2 separate regions of the Homo sapiens genome follow, and region 1 is linked to region 2. Evidence: promoter capture Hi-C in 16 types of primary human blood cells and fetal thymus (Javierre and others, 2016). All regions are on one chromosome and are shown on one strand. The core of a region is centred on a gene start or on the middle of the fragment in contact, and the rest is flanking DNA. Distances in the headings are between cores, read along the strand shown. Region 1 overlaps LINC00649 (long intergenic non-protein coding RNA 649). Region 2 holds the start of KCNE2 (potassium voltage-gated channel subfamily E regulatory subunit 2).

Region 1 (3,416 bases), core at 645-3,144, 390 kb before region 2:
ATTGACAAAATAAGCAAAGTCCTCTGATTCTGAGAATTAGAGTTAATGATAGCTCTAGATTGCCTCTGCCATGCTATTTAAAGTCCTGCTTTATTGTCTGACATGAGTTCGGCATCTATGAGGACTTGTCCAGTGCAAAGTACAATCTCCACTGAAAGATATCACCAGCACATCTTGTCACTGTGCTGTAGCAAGCTGGGCAGTACAATGATGTTGGCAGGATCCTGTTTAGGTGGAGGATGGCCACCTGGGCATCAAGAATCTTCTACCCTGATTCCACATTGACTCCCCAAAGTGGGCTTCAGACAGCTCTTTACTTACGTCTTCTGATTAAAGCAGCAGACAGGGTCCCAGCTAGAGAAAAGTTCTGGGAGCAGGAGAGGTGTTGGTGGCTTTAAAACCAGGGGTGAAGATTGAATTAGGAGGTTAGGCAGGAGTAGGATCAAAGACTTAGAAAATGCTTGTTTCCTCCTATTATTCTTATGAGAGCTGATACGGGGCTTTCAGTTTTGGGGGAGAGCCTTGGAAGAGAATGAGGGAATTTAATCAACTAGCGGGACCTTTCCAACTTACATTTCCCAGTGTTTGTTGGATGATACGTTTGCCTAATAAGTTAAAGCTTCCAAAAATAGAAAGGAAAGCTTGGTGACACTAAGCTCTGGCATGCTGTCATCTTCTGGCTAGGGGTCTTGTGCTTCTGTTTTTCTATTTCTGACCAAAGACATAAAATGTGTTGTGACCTCTCAGGTAATGCTGTGGTATCATGTCCAAGCAGTAACTAACCAGAGTGGAGTTTTTACAGGTAAAAAAGTATTGAATAGCTCAGCAACAGGGAGGACTTAATGATAAATTGCTTTTTCAGAAAATGACAAGGGGACAGACACTTGCGGTTCTTCCATTGAGAGCCTTAAGGAAGTTAAGCGAAGCCTCTGCTCACCCCTTCAAGTAACGATGACCCATCAGATCGTGGTCATAACCAGTAGCATCTGAGGCACCCCTAAGCTCTCTGGGCCCCAGATTCCTTGTTAAGTTAAATGAGGTGACTTCCCAGTTTACCATTCTAGGGGTTCCTGAGGAGTTAAAAATGAAGGAGAAAATGCAACATGTACCAAGTGAGCAAGAGCTCAAGGCTTATCTCTGGCACGAAAGTGACCGCTGTCCGTTAGAGATGTGATTGCCCTAGATTTCCTTTAGGAAATGCAAACATTGAACTCTGGCCTTCAGGACCCAAGTCCCGGCTTGCATCTATTCTATACACTTTCTGTTATTTGTTAGGGCTCACAAGGAACAGTTATTTATCTTTTATTTTCTATTTTTTTTTTAGAGATGGAGTCTCACTCTGTCTCCCAGGCTGGAGTGCAGTGGTGCCATCTCAGCTCACTGCAACCTCCACCTCCCGGGTTCAAGCAATTCTCCTGTCTCAGCCTCCTGAGTAGCTGGGACTACAGGCGTGTGCCATCATGCCCGGCTAATTTTTAGTATTTTTAGTAGAGGCAGGGTTTCACCATATTGGCCAGGCTGGTCTTGAACTCCTGATCTCAAGTGATCTACCCTCCTTGGCCTCCCAAACTGCTGGAATTACAGATGTGAGCGACCACACCTGGCCCATTTGTTTTCTTTCAAACCCTTCTGTAAGACCAGTGCTTTAGGTGAACACGTGGACAGAACAAGATCATCACTATTTTGCAATATGAAGACCAACTGCGCTGTGACCAGAAAAACAGAGGCAAAATGTTGAGCTTAATGATACCTTTTTATAATTTGTATTTGGTGTTTCTCAATTTTCCATTGGATAGTTTGAGAGATAAGTACAAGTCAATGACATGTTCTCTTTCGTACCCTATTGTCTAATCCTGCTAACACACACACACACACACACACACACACTGATTACCTAATTTATCTGTTCCCCGATTATTACACTCTCAATTGCTGCAGAGTCTCAGAAGCAGCATGGTGTAACAGAAAGAATATGAGGCTTAGAATCCAAAAGCCAGAGTGTGAATTCCAGCTCCACTGACTTGCTGCGTGACTTGAAGCAAGTCATTACGTGTCTCTGTTTACTCATTTTATGACTTTCCTATTGCCTCTGTAATATAGCACCACAAACGTGTGGACTTAAAACAACATGCATTTATTCTCTTAGCGTTCTGGAGGTCAGGAGTCTGACATCAATTTCGTTGGGCTAAAATCAAGATGTTGGTAGGACCAAGATCCCCGTGGAGGCTCTGGGAGAACCCATTTCCTTGCCTTTGCCAGCTTCTAATGCTGCATTCCTTGCATTCCTTGATTGTTGACCTCTTCCCCCATCTTCAAAGCCAGCAGAACAGCACCTTGTTTCATTGCCTTCTTTACTGTCAAATCTCCCTCTGCCTTCTTCTTATAAGAACACTTGTGGTTGCATTTAGAAGCTGTGATAATCCAGAATAATATCTTTATCTCAAGATCTTTGACTTGGTCTCTTCTGCAAAGTCTCTTTTGCCACAGAGGGAAATATTCACAGGTCCCAGGGGTCAGGCTGTGTACGTCTTTGGGGGACTTTATTCTGCCTACCACACTCATCTTTTTTTTTTTTTTTTTTGGATGGAGTCTTGCTCTGTCACCCAGGCTGGAGTGCAGTGGCATGATCTCGGCTCACTGCAACTTCTGCCTCCCCAGTTCAAGCAATTCTCCTGCCTCAACCTCCCAAGTAGCTGGAATTACAGGCGCCTGCCACCACGCCCGGCTACTTTTTGTACTTTTAGTAGAGATGGGGTTTCACTATGTTGGCCTGGCTGGTCTTGAACTCCTGACCTCAGGTGATTCCCCCACCTTGGCCTCCCAAAGTGCTGAGATTACAGACGTGAGCCACCATGCCCGGCCCCACACTCATCTATTAAGTAGAGCTAGGAATTCCTATCCTAAGGGACACAAAAATGAAAAAAGATAAAATTTGTGAAGAGGCACATAATGAAAGCCCATACATGTCACTGAGTTCAGAGGAGGGTGGGTCTGACCTCCCATTGGCTGGTCTCTGCCTGATGGACATCGTGAAGAAGAGAGCCAGGACTAGTGTGGCTGGGGGATGTTCAGGGGCCAGAGTGGCTTCAGGTGCCAGCAGCCCTGGCCGAAGGATGACTCCAGGAGCAAGGCTCAGAGCCGAGTGGAAGAAGCTTCATAAACGCAACTGAGCCAAGCATGATGGGATGTGCCTGTGGTTCCAGCTACTCAGGAGGCAGGTGGGAGGATGGCTTGAGTCAGAAGTTCGAGGCTGCAGTGAGCTATGATCACACTACTGTACTCCAGCCTGGGTGACAGAATGACACCCTGTCTCTAAAAAGAAAAGGCACCTGGATGCTCATGACCGAGATGGGGTGGGGTGGGTGGGGTGGGACAGCCGCACTTTATAACTTTGCTTTCAGCATGATGTGGATTAG
Region 2 (3,430 bases), core at 253-2,752:
ATGTCATCAGACCTCTTGTGCCCTGATTCCCTTGGCTAAGTTCACAGTACCTTCCACATCAGGTTGTGGCAATGATTACCTGAGGTTAATACGATAAAAGCACATGGTAAGCACTCCTAAATGATAGCCAATATAAAGACTCAGTTCTCCCAATTCCAAGGGTCCCCACCATGATAGAAAAGGATCTTTTGGTAAATAGAGTATGTTTAGCTCTTGCTAGGTCTTTAAATACTTTGCTGGGGGCCAGGCACCATGGCTCACACCTGTAATCCCACCGCCTTAGGAGACTGAGGCTGGAGGATCCTTTGCGGCCAAGAGTTTGAGACCAGCCTGGGCAACACAGCAAGACCCTATTTCTACAAAAATAAAAATAAAAATTAACCAGGCTTTGTACACACTTGTAGTCCCATTACTTGGGAGGCTGAGGCAGGAGGATCCCTCAAGCCCAAGAGTTCAAAGCTGTAGTGAGCTATGATTGCGCCACTGCACTCCAGCCTGGGTGACAGAGTAAGACTCTGTTTCAAAACAACAACAACAAACAAAAACCTCAAAACCTCTTTGTTGGACTTAACTTCCAGCTCCTCCATGTAGTACCTTAGTACCCTTGCAGCCCGTTTCTCTTTTACAAGACAACAATGTTGTTATAAACTCATTTGGATGTGGTCCCGTGGAGGAGTATTTACCAGAATCTAGCTTATTTAGCGTCTTCAGAACACGGCACTTGCCTGGAATTATACTGACCCCCTCAACCCATACCAACCACCCAGAGATGGCTGTTCTTGGCTCCTCTCCCTGGGGCCCTGTCCTTCCCACATCGTCTTCTTCTTCTTTCTTCTTCTTTCTTCTTCCTTCTTCTTCCTTCTTCTTCCTTCTTCTTCCTTCTTCTTCCTTCTTCCTCTTCCTCTTCCTCTTCTTCTTTCTTCTTTCATTGAGACAGAGTCTCACTCTGTCACCCAGCCTGGAGTGCCGTGGTATGATTTCAGCTCACTGTAACTTCTGCCTTGTGGATTCAAGTGATTCTCCTGCCTCAGCCTCCAGAGTAGCAGGGACTACAGGTGTGTGCCACCACACCTGGCTAATTTTTACATTTTTAAGTAGAGACGGGGTTTCACCATGTTGGCAAGGCTGGTCTTGAACTCCTGATCTCAGGTGATCTGCCCGCCTCAGCCTCCCAAAGTGCTGGGATTACAGGCGTGAGCCACCCCACCCAGCCCTTCCCACGTATTCTGGCAGGGAATGCTGTTGTCCCCCAAGCCTACCCTAAGAGGAAGACTTCTTCTGGGGAAAGATGTTCACTGTACCCAGGCCCTGCCCTGGCTGGAGCTGGCAGGAAGGGTCCCAGAGCAGGAACTTGTGCCACTCTGCCCAAAGCCAGAGTCCCTGAGGCACACACCCCATCAGGCACCAAGGTGAATTCCAACTGCCAGTTAGTATTTAACTTTCCACATACGATTAGATTAAACATGTGGGTTCATAAAAGCATAGGATTGCAGACTGCAGTTGCAAGGGCTTAGATGGTTGTAAGGTGAAGGTGCCCAGCAGGCTGAGGCTTGTGTGCAACCCAGAAGAGAGCTCGCTAACGCCAGCAAGAAGGTTCAGAACAGCCTGGCTTTGGAAAGGAATTTCATCCTGCCCACACACTGCATAGGTAAGTCTTAGCACACATTCTTTATTTTTTGAGGAATTAAGTAACAAAGTTATCTATGTGCCTTTTCCAGAAAATGATAAAAGGAATGATTTTCCTGGTACATGGCCTGGCTCCTCATCCACTCTTCCTTCTTTCCTTCTTGTGTTTTCCTTACTCATTTCTTTGTTAATTGCCTTAGAATGAAAATTTTGAGAGTTTTTAAAATGGAGGATTCATGGTAAACGTAGGTAATCATATTGTTTTCTCTTCTTGATATAAAAATGAAAGACTTTGCTGCCTTTTATAGGCCCAGGTGATGTGAGCGATCTACCATGTTTCAAGAAAAGAAAACTTTGGGGCTGGGCGCGGTGGCTCACGCCTGTAATCCCAGCACTTTGAGAGGCTGAGGCAGGCGGATCACCTGAGGTCAGGAGATCGAGACCAGCCTGGCCAACATAGTGAAACCCCATCTCTACTAAAAATACAAAAAAAATTAGCCTGGCGTGGTGGCTGGCGCCTGTAGTCCCAGCTACTCAGGAAGCTGAGGCAGGAGAACGGCATGAACCCGGGAGGTGGAGCTTGCAGTGAGCCGAGATCACGCCACTGCACTCCAGCCTGGGCGACAGAGTGAGACTCCATCTCAAAAAAAAAAAAAAGAAAGAAAAGAAAACTCTGGACTTTGGGGTCAAATGAGTGTTACTTTCCTAATAGTGTCCTGATTGCTGTTGTCATGAATAACACACATTCATGACAGGAATGGCTGGAATTAGGGGATCATTCTGTAGCCTGGAGACAGGGCACAACTAATGACATGTGTAAGCTCAAATCATGGTCTTGATCTTATGTCTTGTACCCAGTTGAGCCAACTGGTCACAGCAATGAAAACAGTGAGTTATTGGAATGTGTGACCTCTGCTAGGACAGTCAGTGCTGGACACTGGCTTGGGTGATGTGAGTTCTAGTCCAGGCACTGTGGCCAACTTGAGAGGCTTGTGATCTTGGACAGGTGACTTAAGCCCTCTAGGCTATAGTTATTCCACCTATCAGAGAGCAAACCAGCCTAAATGATCTCCAGGGGCCCAGCCTGTGCTAGGACTCAGCAAGAAGCATTCACTGGAAATGTAGGTCCTCCTAGGTTGATACACATGAATTGCCCATATTTGACCATTTCTAACCTATATAAATGGCTATTTCATATAATTCCAGAGAACATAAATGGTAGTTGTCTTAGCATTACTAAAGTAAATGCCTATTATGATATTCTACTTAGGGGTAGGATAAGTATGTATACCAAATATGGTTTGTTTCGATTTGATTTTTGAGACAGGGTCTCACTGTCACTGCTGAGTGCAGTGGTGTGATCATGGCTTACTGCAGCCTTGACCTCCCAGGTTCAAGCTATCCTCCCACCTCAGCCTCCTGAGTAGCTGGGACTATAGGAGTGTGCCATCACATCCAGCTATTTTTTTATGTTTTGTAGAGGTGGTGTCTCGCTATGTTGTCCAGGCTGATCTCGAACTCCTGGGTTCAAGCGATCCTCCCACCTCGGCCTCCCGAAGTGCTGGGATTACAGGTGTGAACCACTGTGCCTGGCCTCCAAATATGGTTGATGTCTATCAGTCAGTTAAACAGTAATTCTGGGAATAAAAAATTGAAATCAACCCACTTATAATTGGAATGTCTTAGCATAATGTCCTTCAACGAAGCTGCTTTCACACACTGTGATTTGTTTTTTTCCTGTGGTCATGGAGCAGGCATGGGCCACTCGGCCACATCTCATGCATCCGTATTCAAAAGCCAAATC

The links. Contacts are between HindIII fragments. The CHiCAGO score rates a contact against its expected background, and 5 or more counts as called.
Region 1: a fragment that was not itself captured here is called in contact with the fragment with the promoter of KCNE2 in region 2 in 1 of 17 cell types (naive CD8 T cells); the score reaches 5.2 in naive CD8 T cells.

Annotation. Positions count from the first base shown.
Region 1 is chr21:33,969,652-33,973,067 of GRCh38, forward strand. LINC00649 (long intergenic non-protein coding RNA 649) reads left to right here. Exons shown (of 3, transcript NR_038883.2): 3 at 1-1,535. Among named protein-coding and RNA genes, the nearest start is that of LINC00649, 40 kb to the left of the region's middle. RefSeq lists an enhancer at 2,029-2,718 and a silencer at 2,117-2,411. The HindIII fragment of the contact is 2,511 bases long and covers 640-3,150 here.
Region 2 is chr21:34,362,504-34,365,933 of GRCh38, forward strand. It overlaps KCNE2 (potassium voltage-gated channel subfamily E regulatory subunit 2), which reads left to right and starts at 1,503. Exons shown (of 2, transcript NM_172201.2): 1 at 1,503-1,648. The region is part of intron 2 of LOC105372791 (a long non-coding RNA gene); the gene reads right to left. The HindIII fragment of the contact is 16,740 bases long and covers 1-3,430 here.